Regions from separate parts of the Homo sapiens genome. Here regions 1, 2 and 4 are each linked to region 3. Evidence: promoter capture Hi-C in 16 types of primary human blood cells and fetal thymus (Javierre and others, 2016). All regions are on one chromosome and are shown on one strand. The core of a region is centred on a gene start or on the middle of the fragment in contact, and the rest is flanking DNA. Distances in the headings are between cores, read along the strand shown. Region 1 has its middle 140 kb from the start of WDFY3. Region 2 has its middle 93 kb from the start of WDFY3. Region 3 holds the start of MAPK10-AS1 (MAPK10 antisense RNA 1). Region 4 has its middle 150 kb from the start of WDFY3.

The links. Contacts are between HindIII fragments. The CHiCAGO score rates a contact against its expected background, and 5 or more counts as called.
Region 1: a contact is called between a fragment that was not itself captured here and the fragment with the promoter of MAPK10-AS1 in region 3, in 5 of 17 cell types (M0 macrophages, naive B cells, monocytes and 2 more). The highest score is 8.1, in M0 macrophages.
Region 2: a fragment that was not itself captured here is called in contact with the fragment with the promoter of MAPK10-AS1 in region 3 in 4 of 17 cell types (total B cells, naive B cells, M1 macrophages and 1 more); the score reaches 11.7 in total B cells.
Region 4: a fragment that was not itself captured here is called in contact with the fragment with the promoter of MAPK10-AS1 in region 3 in 4 of 17 cell types (M0 macrophages, M1 macrophages, M2 macrophages and 1 more); the score reaches 6.7 in M0 macrophages.

What each region holds. Positions count from the first base shown.
Region 1 is chr4:85,101,078-85,104,001 of GRCh38, reverse strand. No RefSeq gene overlaps it. Among named protein-coding and RNA genes, the nearest start is that of WDFY3, 140 kb to the right of the region's middle. The HindIII fragment of the contact is 1,870 bases long and covers 333-2,202 here.
Region 2 is chr4:85,058,402-85,061,654 of GRCh38, reverse strand. No RefSeq gene overlaps it. Among named protein-coding and RNA genes, the nearest start is that of WDFY3, 93 kb to the right of the region's middle. The HindIII fragment of the contact is 1,913 bases long and covers 304-2,216 here.
Region 3 is chr4:86,118,331-86,121,506 of GRCh38, reverse strand. It overlaps MAPK10-AS1 (MAPK10 antisense RNA 1), which reads right to left and starts at 1,701. Exons shown (of 4, transcript NR_110879.1): 1 at 1,624-1,701; 2 at 906-1,523. All of the region lies in intron 4 of MAPK10 (mitogen-activated protein kinase 10), which reads left to right. The HindIII fragment of the contact is 8,901 bases long and covers 1-3,176 here.
Region 4 is chr4:85,117,325-85,120,311 of GRCh38, reverse strand. No RefSeq gene overlaps it. Among named protein-coding and RNA genes, the nearest start is that of WDFY3, 150 kb to the right of the region's middle. The HindIII fragment of the contact is 6,129 bases long and covers 1-2,987 here.

The DNA.
Region 1 (2,924 bases), core at 18-2,517, 1.0 Mb after region 3:
TATGGAGCAAGAAGGCAATCTGTCATAGGCTGAGAGTCTATCTTGAATATTAACTTAAGAATTGACATCTAAATTAATGTTCAAGATAGACTCTTAGCCTATGGCAGATTGGTTTCTTGGTCCACATCATCATTACCTCCAACTCAGATCCAGATGTGCATATTTACCTTCCTCTGCCCTGATGAGTAATTAGAAGGAAAAGTTTGAAAAGCATTATCTCCATATTTGTACCATTTTTGGATCTACGTTCATTTTCAGTCCAGTCCTCTCCCTTTCCAATAAGTCAAAAGGCAGGCCTGTATGGAAAACTCTCTTCTCTATAAAGCAAAGCTTCTCACCTTTTCTCTACATGAGTATTCCTGAGGATAAGGCATATTTCCATGAATTACACTTACAGAAAGTGATTCTCAGTAGGATATCGCAATTATGGCAAACATTGATTCTGATCAATCCTTCAGGAGGAGGCTCTCTCTGTTACCTCACCCCATACCTATAGCTATTCATTTAGCCAATAAACTTTTAATGTCTATTCTCTATGAGCCAGGTGCTGTAATCATTAGGAAACTTACTTATGCTTGAGGTTGGGGATAGAGAAGATGAGTGAACCACCCATTGTAATATAATGCAACAATCACAATTTATGGACATTTGAAAAGGCAGTAAAATGTGTCTTAAAAGTCAAAAGAATTTAAAAAATCAAAGCAGACCTAGGTATGATTCAGATATTAAAGTTGGCAGAAAAATCCCCTGACAGTTTTCAGCAGGTCTCCCATTGTCTCACCTATAAGCAAGCCGTATGGAAGACCAGGAAACAGACCCCAACAGTACAACCCAGAGAAGGATATGGGTGAGGAGGAATCTGAGGGAAGATGGTTCTAAAACCAGCACAGAAATTGTAGAATAAAGACTACAGAAGAGTCACTAGGCTTGACAAGTATGAAGTCAATGATCACCATTCTTTGAGATAATTAAGAAGTACTTAAGAATGTAAGTTAAGGGATTGTGAGAGTCAAAATTTTTGTCCCAAAAAATGTTTTAATGTAAATTGCTTTATTTTTAGAACTAACCTCATCCAGTTTTGAGGCCCCAGTTTTTTCTGTAAGATTAACTCATGCTGTTTCAGATTAGTCTTTGGGAGGTATCATCTCAGGGACTGCTTATTTAGATTCTCCCTTTTCTGCATAATCTACATTCTTGAGGCGCTTACTTATCATCCTGGCACCAGTACAAGGGGCATCTGATGTACTCCTGTCCTTGTTTTTTAGATCTTTATCACCTCCTTGGAAACATCCCTCATTTCACATGATTCCCTATGTCTCCTGCACTGTTATCTGCTGAAATATGACTATTTAAATATTTTCTCTGCATCTTTGGGCCCCACACTCTGTCCTCCTTGTCCTAACCACAGGGTACCATAGATTATCTTATTCCCATAGGAAGCCTGATAATGTTAGGCTGATAATGTTAGGCTGCTTTCTCAGTATCACACTTAAATGGCCTTCAACCTTGAGGCTTGGACACCTTCCTCATCTAGGTCTAACCTCTCACTATGACAGGGCCATGTTGTTTTGGTACCATGCATAACAGAAGAAGGGGCTTAAAATTTTCCTGGGATTCATCCACAAAAAAAACATTCTTGTTTTATCCGTCACTCTCTCTTCCTCTCCCTCTCAACCTAGCAACAGAGGGTTTTCTATCTTACATCATTTTTGCTGAGACAAAAAAAAGAGTCTGTGCAATATATATATACCAGACAAGTTCAAAATTGAGTAGAACCTCCGCTTCTTACTGGAGGAATAAAGAAGAAAATGCTACCACTATAATATAAACTCAATTACTGAAAAAAATAGAATGTGAAATGGAATTTGTATGAGATATTATCTTTCAGCATTTGGAAAGCTCATGTGGTAGGTTATGTCCAGGCCTGCTATAGACCCAAAACACAACAAAAAATAGAACATAGTCATATGCGACTATGGCACAGGTAGGAAGAACTTCACTGGTTGTACGTGGACCACTGATAGACCATGTCCCCACCCTCAGACTAATTACTTAAAAGGCAATATTTGATCACAGAACCTAGGTGACAGCTCCTTGAGGAACAAGAGGGTCATCAGGTAACTGCACACATTCACTGGTGTACTTTTCTGGTGGACATAATTTACATAGTTGTTTGCTATGCAACCAAAGCAGAAGTAAGCTTAAACCATTTCCAGTTCATTATTCTGGCCAGTCTTCGACAGATATCAAACTTCACAGCCTCACCTAGCTACTCCCTTCTCCTTTGCTACTCTTTTCTTACCTTTCTACTCCATCCTCACTTTGCACTTCAGCTTTCTTTTCTCCTTAAAACTGCCTTGTCAAATAAGAACTTTTTCCTTGAACTGTATTTTAAAATTTCTTTACTGGCTTATTATAGTAAGACTCTTATAATTCATTCCCTATGATTGCTGTAACCATAAACTTGATGACTTAAAGCAACATAAATTTATTCTCTTACAGTTTTATAAATCAGAAGAGACTTCTGACTATTGTTACTCTAGTATTTTCCTTCACTTTCATGGTGGTGTTAACATTCACCGTATCATTCACCATATTCATAATGTGGTACCATGCATAATTGAATAAGGGACTTAAAATTTTCCTGGGATTCATCCAGAAACAAAACACTCTTGTTTTATCCGTTGCTCTCTCTATTCATAATGATGAATTATATGGTGAATGTTAACACTACCGTGAAAGTGAAGGAAAATACTAGAGTAACAATAAGAAAAAGAACTTCTGTAATAAAGACTATCATTAAAATAATCATTTCTTAAAAACAAGTTTCATAATCTCAACAAGGGCTTTACAGTGAATATATTTAAAGAGCTTCATAAACTTCATTATGCACATCAAAACACCCAAGTCAGAGGGTTTTATGA
Region 2 (3,253 bases), core at 11-2,510, 1.1 Mb after region 3:
TGGCTGAACAAAGGGGTGAAGAGAGCCTGGGTCATGGCGTCATAGCCCTGGACTACCTCTCTTCCAACTGACTTCTCATTAGGAATTAAAAGATAAATGCTTATCCTATTTGAACTACTCTTATTTGGGTTTTCTATACATACAGCCAAACTCAGTCCCTAATATAAGTGGGCATCATTGTCCCCACTCACAGATAAAGTTAAGGAACTCCTGTGATGACACAGCCTGGAGATGGCAGAACTGGATTTGGAACCAAAGCATTCTGGGCCCAGAGCTCACATGCTAAATTATATACTACAAGCTTCTTTAAAAAGTACAAAGAAGATTAGATTTAGGAACCAGAAATTGACTTTATCTGACTTTTCCTCCTATCTATACACTCCCTTTCCTTGATCCACTATTCATTCCTTTGGACAAGTAACCCCATTTAGTGTACTAAGTATGAAGCACACTGCACCAGGCGCTGGAGATGCTACACTGACAAGCCAGACAAGATCCCTGCCTCATAGAGCCTGTACCTGTGGGGGTATAGATGAGAACATAGACCATTACAATGTTATAAGCACAATCATGTGGGTGATACAAGGTACCATGGGAAACAAAGGAGGAGTCCTAGCCCAGTTGGTTTTCTCTCCCTCCCCAAAAATATAGTGACTAATTATCCAGATGTGCAGAAAAAAAAATCAGAAAAAGTGAGCTCCTCTACTTAAATAGTCTCATAGATTATTTTCTCCTGAAGGAGAGGGGAGCCAGCTAGAAAATTTTCCTTACACCTTCTTGACTTGACACAGGATTCCTCAGCCTTTTTTCATATTGCCTATGCAATCATTCTTACAATTGTTCTTACTCTTGACACACAGATGTGAGAAATATTTCCCAATTCTCCCACAAGTGGCATTCAAAGGACTGTTACTCTACTATGGTTAGTCCTGCCCATGTCTCTCCATAAGCTGTGTTACTGTCTGCCTTCAGAAGCTGTCTCTTCAGTCTGTGTTGTAATAAGGCTATCATTACTCTGCTTGCCTTTGTTCACTTCCATCCCTCCTGGATAGAATGGCAATTGGAAAGGAACAATGAGGATCCTCCTTTTAAATCTTCTGCCGCAGATCCACGTAAAATAACTTCCTTCTCTGTTTCACAAAGCCCAAACCTTCCTTCTGACACCACCTTAGGCTTCATCTGTGATTCACATATCTAATATAAAAAGGCCCCCTTTTGTTAACCACTGCATCAGGAAATCGAGTAAGATAATAGACTACTCTCTCTTGCTCTCACCCCCCATGTCCTTCTCTCTCAATGGAGCACTATATCTCATAAGATTCTAAAAAGGAAAGGCAGAATGAGATTGTTAAAACCTCTACTGCATTTTGATCCTATTTTACCTGATTAACTATCTATTCATCATTTGCCTTCTGAGTATGAAATACAGAAGCATCATGCTGCTCAGGGGAACATCAAGCTGTACTTTGCTGGTTTCTACCATTGACAGGCACCAACATGGAATCACTTGATAAACCTAAAAGCAAAGAAAGTATTCAGGTAATAGACACAGCACAAATAACAACAAAAACAAGCAAATGTATCACTTTATTGTAATTGTCCTTAGTGGCTTAAAAGCATGGCACAGACTACGTTTTTTGCATGAATAATGACCCCTTTTGTCTTCCAACTTTTTACAATAACAAACTTATATGCCTATCTCACTTCTTAACACATTATCCCTGGTTATCCCATTTGTCACCATAATTATGTGACTTGAAGGGCAATAATCTGGTGAAACAAGGACTTTGAGTTTTCATTCTAAGCTCATAACTTCTGATATAACCTTGTATGAATTATCCAAGCTCCACAGCCCCATCATTAGAATAGCAGTGACAATAACCTACCTCAGAGGTTTATATGAAAACAAGCAGATTTTTCAAATCATGATGAGACACTTTGCACAAACAAAGGGCTTTGAAGCTGTATTGTCATTCTCGGACTTCTGCTCTACTTCCAATTACGGGGTGAAGTCGGTCACTGATTAATCCTTACTAGAGCCACAGTCTCTTCCTAGGAAGTGCAGCCACAGGGCAGAAGAGTGTCAAGATGAAATATGCATTGAAATATCATTCTCAAAACTTTGGATAACAAAAGGGGCTGTGGGTTCTTTTCATTATCGCAAAAAAAAATCTGAGTTCTTTGTGTCTTCATAGAAAACTGAACACAGGGAAGCTTGATAGAGGGGAATCAAGGATGAGAACACTGATTTCCATCATTTATTCTTGCCATGCTGAAGAAGAATGAGTAATAAACACGGAACTGAGGCTGCCATCTTATACCATCTACCCCATGTGTATTCAGCATCTGACAGTACCAAGGCTTAGCATAATAGGCAGAAAACCAGATACAGATAACAAAATTGTGCTCCTCACAAGACCCCAGTGTGCTAACCCTTTTCACCATCATTACTCCCTCTTTCTAACTTTCCTGTTGCATTCCTGAGTCTCTCACTCAATTTTTGTACACTCTTGTCCTTGTTCTGCTCCACAGTGCTGGGCCCTCTCCATTTTCTGTAATTTCAAGAGAAATTTCCACCAACAAAAGTTTTACTGATGGTGAATATTTACATTTATTATGGGGAAAAAGTGGTAGCAGCCATTAAACTTCACCCTGCTGGAATCCTCTCCTAAATATTTCCATAATCCCTTTGGACTCTCAAATGTGATCTTTGGGTAGGATGATAAACAGGCACATGGACAACTGCTGAGTCTAAGTCTCCCTGTTTCTCCCTCCCTCTCCTCCCCATTTCATGGTTTTCTCTATGAAGCTGCCAGGGGCCTTTTGAAAATGTGAATCAGATCATTTCACTCCTTTGCTTAAAACCCTGCACTGGCTTCTCATAAACATAGGAATAAAATCCAAAGCCTATTGCATGACTCATAAAGACTTACGGGATGTGGCCACTAGCTACCTCTACAATCATACTTCCACAGCCTTCTCCTTGCCCGGCCACCCTAGCAGCAAGGTTGCGCTCCTCATATGCCCCAAGCACACTTATGCCTCAGGTCTCTGCAGTTAGCTTAACCTCAACTAGGATACTCTCTCTGATAGTCACAGGCTTATTATGTGCCTTCATTCAGGTTTATACTCAAATCTCAACTTAGCGTAGAGGCTTTCCCTGACCACCCTGTATTCAAAGCCTCCTTGGCTCTTGGCTATTACCTTACCCTGATTTATCTCTATAGCATCTATCAACTGTTGGTGTTATATT
Region 3 (3,176 bases), core at 452-2,951:
GAGTAATCTGCAAATGTATCTTTTGTGTCTCCCCAAAATTCATATATTGAAACTTAATCTCCAATGTGATATTGTTAGAAAGTGGCATCTTAGGGAGGTGATTAGGTCATGAGGATTTGCCCTCATGAATGATATTAGTGCCCTTATAAAAGAGACCCCAAAGAGCTAGTTATCCCCTCTGCCATGTAAGAACACAACAAGATGGTGCCTTCTATGAGGAACAAGCCCTCACCAGTCACCAAATCTGGCTGTTTCTTGATCTTGTACTTCCCAGACTCAAGAATTGTGAGAAATAGATGTCTGCTGTTTATAAGCTGCCCATTCTCAGATGTTTTGTTATAGCAGCCCAAATAGACTAAGACATAGCTGCATGTGTTAAATCATCGTATGTAGGCACAGCCTTCTTACAATAATTACTAACTGAAATAGATGCTGATGGTCCTTTAGGAGAACTGTTTCTGGTTTTCATTTGGTTGTGACCAAGAATATATAAGAAATAGAAATTTAGTATATAGTACTTTAATTAAATATGTAGTTTTAATTTTATTTATTTCTGTCGGAAGGGTTTTATTGCAAAGTTAGAAAATATTTACTAAACACTAAAAACCAAATAATTATTGGTTTATACCACACAGTAAATGGCAAAATCAGTGTAGCAAGGCTGTCTAACTACACCCTATATGCCTTATAGCAGGGCTGGCCAGTCTAATTTCCCAAGTTTTCAGCTTACCCTATCAATTGGCAGCCTGGCAGCTTTGTGAATTTTGTAGACTAAAACATCGACTAGATAAATATATGAATGGTCCATTGAATGGTCAGTAAAGGAGCAGAATGGGCATGAGACAATTTGTCACAAAGATCAAAGAAGAGAAACTGAGACAGTCTGTGTGCATTCCATCACCTACCATTTTACTGAGATGAAGTTAATATTTCTCCAAGAATCTTCAGTTTCTTCTCCAATGTCACCATCCTGATTTCCAGAAATTGCCTCGTGTCTAGAGCAGCCATTTTCTTTCCATTCATCTATTTTCTGTGGTGATGAGCTGCTGAGCTGGTCCCATGTTTTTGATTAAGGTGAATAATCTTTGTGTGGTCTTCCCCGTCTTTAGTTTGCTGATGGGTTGTAAAGTACTAGTTCAGTTTCTAGTGTTTTAAGAAGTTCCTGCTTTTGATACGTCTTTGAGGGACTGGCTGTGAGACCCACTTGCTGCCTTGCTTCAATTTAGTGTCTACCAAGCACAAAGTGGTTTTGAATGAAAACTCTATAATTAGGCTTGGTCATCTAGGTTAGTTGGTTACATAGGTGAAATGGCTTTTCTTGATGTTGAGCTCGTAGTCTAGCCATGTTTATCCATAATTGGACTTGCCTTTTGCCTAGGGAAGTATCCAAGTGAACTCCAGAGCATATTGCTGTATTTAGCCATGACTTACTGCTTTCCAAACACTGTATTCTCCAGAAGGTACACTTTGAGATGGTGATTTCATGCAGGAGATTTATTAGGAAGTATTTTGGGGGCCAACACCTGTGGAAAAAGAAAATAGAGACAAGTTCAGCTGCAATACAATCTCAATAGAAGCCTCTGCTGACCCTATTGGGAGTTCTGAAGAGGTAATGAGCCTTACCAGCTGTCCTGAATTGGGGTGAAGTGGCCAGGCTTTTATAACCACATGTTCATCAGTCATTGAATGAAGGCTACCTATGAAGAGTGTGTAGGCTAGGTTAGGCAGCTTTTGTCAGCTGAGGTCATCCTCAAAGGGGGCTAAGAGCTGAGAGGCTGTCTGCTGGCAGCACACCTAGCATCTGACATAATAAGCCCTTTATTCCTGACAGGGAATCTTCTTGCATCACAGCACCTACACCATTGCCCTTGGATACATTAATAGAGTTCTCCTATTATTGGCTTTTTTTTTTTTTTTTTTTTTGTGATGGAGTCTTGCTCTGTCACCCAGGCTGGAATGCAGTGGCTCACTGCAACCTCTGCCTGCCGGATTCCAGCAATTCTCCTGCCTCAGCCTCTGAGTAGCTGGGATTACAGGTGCGTGCTACCACGCCTGGCTAATTTTTGTATTTTTAGTAGAGACGGTGTTTCACCATGTTGGCCAGGCTGATCTCAAACTCCTGACCTCGTGATCCGCCTCGGCCTCCCAAAGTGCTGGGATTACAGGCGTGAGCCACATCGCCCGGCCCTATTGGCTTTTTATTCCCAACATGCTGAGAACAAATTTGCAGAAAATCGAAGGCAAAAGTGCGTAGGGCCCTCAAAAATCACTGTGCATCTCTGAAACTTTGATAAGCCTACTTTTATACTTTGTTATATGATATAATGAATATCTTTATTACTTAAGTTATTATTATTCAGAATTCTGTTACTTGTAATTGAAAGTATTCTCAACAAATATAACCAAACTTGTACAGCCAAACCATTCAATGACAAAATAATTAACCAAAAAAATCAACTGTTGACTTTTGATAGAAAAACTAAAAAAAGCCTCTCTGAGGAGATAATATTTGGGCTGAAATCTGAATCACAAATGGGGTTAGCCAAGTGAGGATGCAAGAAGAGCATTCCTGTTAGGGGGAACAATTGCAGAATCCTAAGGCAGAAGTGAATTTGGCAGGTTCAAAAACATGATTCTTATTAAAGAATTTGGTTTGCCAGGCTATGATTTAAGATGTTTAAGATGCTCCAGTAATGCTTAGGGATTTCCCCCACAAATATTTAATATGATTACAAACATTTTAAATGTAAAGGGAAAGAGGAACAAGAAAAATTGTCAAATAAATGATTATGACTTAGGAAGAAGAACATTTGTGTAAGAGGTTATCTGCAATTGTCAGAAGAAAAAAATACCTGATAAATATATTGAGAACAAGATTTGCCTTCAGAGATGTGTGTGTGTGTGTGTGTGTGTGTGTGTGTGTGTGTATGTGTATTTATATAAATACATACAAGGAGGTAAACATAGCTTTATAGCATCATCAAGCTGAATTAAATGACAGGAGCATAACAGCAGAAAGCTCTATCACTCTTTTAGGAATAAACCTGGTAGAAGTGGAGGTGTGTTAGTACTGTATGCCAAGAAGTTGCTGGAAAATCTTCAGCAGTGTGGCTGGAGAATTGTTGGAAAAATCTTCATAAAGACCTATCTCCATTTTTACCTGCATAAAGATAGCA
Region 4 (2,987 bases), core at 96-2,595, 1.0 Mb after region 3:
TGATTAACTTTCTAAAATTGAACCACTGAGATAATTTAATTGCTGGAATTTCAAAAATATAAATTTTTAGATGTTTTCTATAGTTCAATGCTTATTCTGAAAGACAGGTTCCACTAAAATATCAGTCAGGCAAAAATATTTATTGATCCCTTAGTATGTGCTAGTATTGGTGCTAGGTACACAAGAGGGAACAAGATAATGTCCCTACCTTCAGTGAGTTGACATTCTAATGTATGGAAGCAGACAGTAACATAAGCAAAATAATTACAATAATTTTAGGAACTTCTAAGTGCTCTGAGTAAAATATAGTGACAATTTGGTCTAGTTTACAGCACTGGAAATGATGAGATATAGTCAGATATAAAATATAATTTAGAAACACAGGCAACTGGACTGTCTGGTAGATTCAATGTGAGCAGTGAAAGAAAGAGGATTCAAGAATAACTCCCATGTTTTCAGCCTGAACAGCAACTGAGTGGATGATAATACCATGTATTGATAAATGGAAAGATTGAGAGATGATTTTTTTCAGAAAATTAAGAGAAGCCATGTTTGGTTAGAGACACTCAAGTAAAAATACTGTGTAAGATATCAGACATACAATTCTGATTTTCAGGACAAAGTTCAAAATTATAAATAAAAATTTGGGAGCCATCAGCATATAGATGGCATTTAAAGCCTTGGGACTAAGCAGGGTATCTTAAGAAAATGTAACTATAGATGATTAGAGGGTTGAAAAATAAACTCTGGGCACTCCAGCAGTTAGAGATGTGTTAACAAAAATAGAGAGCTGGCAAACATAAGAACGGTTTGAGAAATGGAGAAATTTGAGAAAAAGAGAAATACAGGAGAAAAGAGCATATGTGACTGAAGATATAGGCGGGTGGTAGGAAAGTAGCATGTTTTTGTTGATTATATCCATTTTCTCTCTGAAGTAGAAAACCAAGTCATCAACTGAGAGTAAAACAGAATAATCAGTGTTTGAGATTGGAGAAGAGAAGGTGTGAAATAGTCATCTAGAGAGGATGACAGTGAATTTACTAGAAAACTGAAATAGGAGTTTCTGAAAGTGCTCAGTGATTTTGAGATCAGGGGTCATAAATCTGAAGCAAGGCCAGTCAGCATGGTAGTCTAACTGTCATCCAGCAATGTCCAGCTACTCTGGTATAGGGTTGTATTAGTCCATTTTCCTGCTGCTGATAAAGACATACCCAAGACTGGGCAATTTACAAAAGAAAGACGTTTAATGGACCCACAGTTCCACACAGCTAGAAAGGCCTCACAATCATGGTGGAAGGCAAAAGGTACTTCTTACATGGAGGCAGCAAGAGAGAGAATGAGAGAGCTTGTGCAGAGAAACTCTTGTTTTTAATACCATCAGAGCTCATGAGACTTATTCACTATCACAAGAACAGCACAGGAAAGACCCGCCCCCATAATTCAATTACCTCCCACTGGGTTTCTCCCACAACATATGGAAATTATAGGAGTTACAATTCAAGATGAGATTTGGGTGGGGACACAGGCAAACCATATCATGCCACCCCCAGCCCCTCCCAAATCTCATGTCCTCATATTTCCAAACCAATCATACCTTCCCAAAAGTCTCCCAAAGTCTTAACTCGTTTCAGCATTAACTCAAAAATCCAAAGTCTCCTGAGACAAGGCAAGTCCCTTCCACTTATGAGCCTGTAAAATCAAAGGCAAGTTAGTTACTTCCTAGATACAATGGGGATACAGGCATTGGGTAAATACAGCCATTCCAAATGGGGGAAATTGGCCAAAATGAAGGGGCCACAGGCCCCATGCAAGTCTGAAGTCCAGCAGGGCAGTCAAATCTTAAAGCTCTAAATGATTTCCTTTGAATCCATGTCTCACATCCACGTCATGCTAATACAAGTGGTGAGTTCCCATGGTCTTGAGCAGTTCCACCCCTGAGGCTTTGCAGGGGATAGCCTCCCCCTCCCTCCCAGCTGCTTTCACAGGCTGGTTTTGAGTGTCTGTGGTTTTCCCAGGTGCACAGTGCAAGCTGTATGTGGACCTACCATTCTGGGGTCTGGAGGACAGTGGCCCGCTTCTTACAGCTCCTCTAGGTGGTACCCCAGTAGGAACTCTGTGTGGGGGGGCTCCCATCCTACATTTCCCTTCTGCGCTGCCCTAGCAGAGGTTCTCCATGAGAGCCTCACTTCTGCAGCAAACTTCTGCCTGGACATCCAGGAGTTTCCATAGAGCCTCTGAAATCTAGGCAGAGATTCCCAAACCTCAATTCTTGACTTCTGTGAACGCACAGGCTCAACACCACATGGAAGCTGCCAAGACTTGGGGCTTCCACCCTCTGAAGCAACAGCCTGAGCTGTACCTTGGCCTTTTTTAGTCACAGTTGGAGCATCTGGGACAAAGGGCACCAAGTCCTTAGGGTGCACACAGCATAGGGACCCTGGGCCCAACACACAAAACAATTTTTTCCTTCTAAAGCTCCAGGCCTGTGATGGGAGGGGCTGCCCTGAAAACCTCTGACATACCCTGGAGACATTTTCCCAAATGTCTTGGGGAATAACATTCAGCTTGTTACTTATGCAAATTTCTGCACCTGGCTTGAATTTCTCCTCAGAAAATGAGATTTTCTTTTCTATCACATTGTCAGGCTGCAAATTTTCCAAACTTTTATGCTCTGTTTCCCTTTTAAAACTGAATGCTTTTAATAGGGCCCAAAGTCACCTCTTGAATACTTTGCTGCTTAGAAATTTCTTCTGCCAGATACCCTAAATCATCTGTCTCACATTCAAAGTCCACAAATCTCTAGGGCAGGGGCAAAATGCCACCAGTCTCTTTGCTAAAACATAACAAGAGTCACCTTTGCTCCAGTTCCCAACAAGTTCCTCATCTCCATCTGAAACCACCTCAGCCTGGACCTTATTGTTCATATAACTATCAGCATTTTTGTCAAAGCCATTCAACTAGTCTCTAGGACTAGTTGTCCCACATTT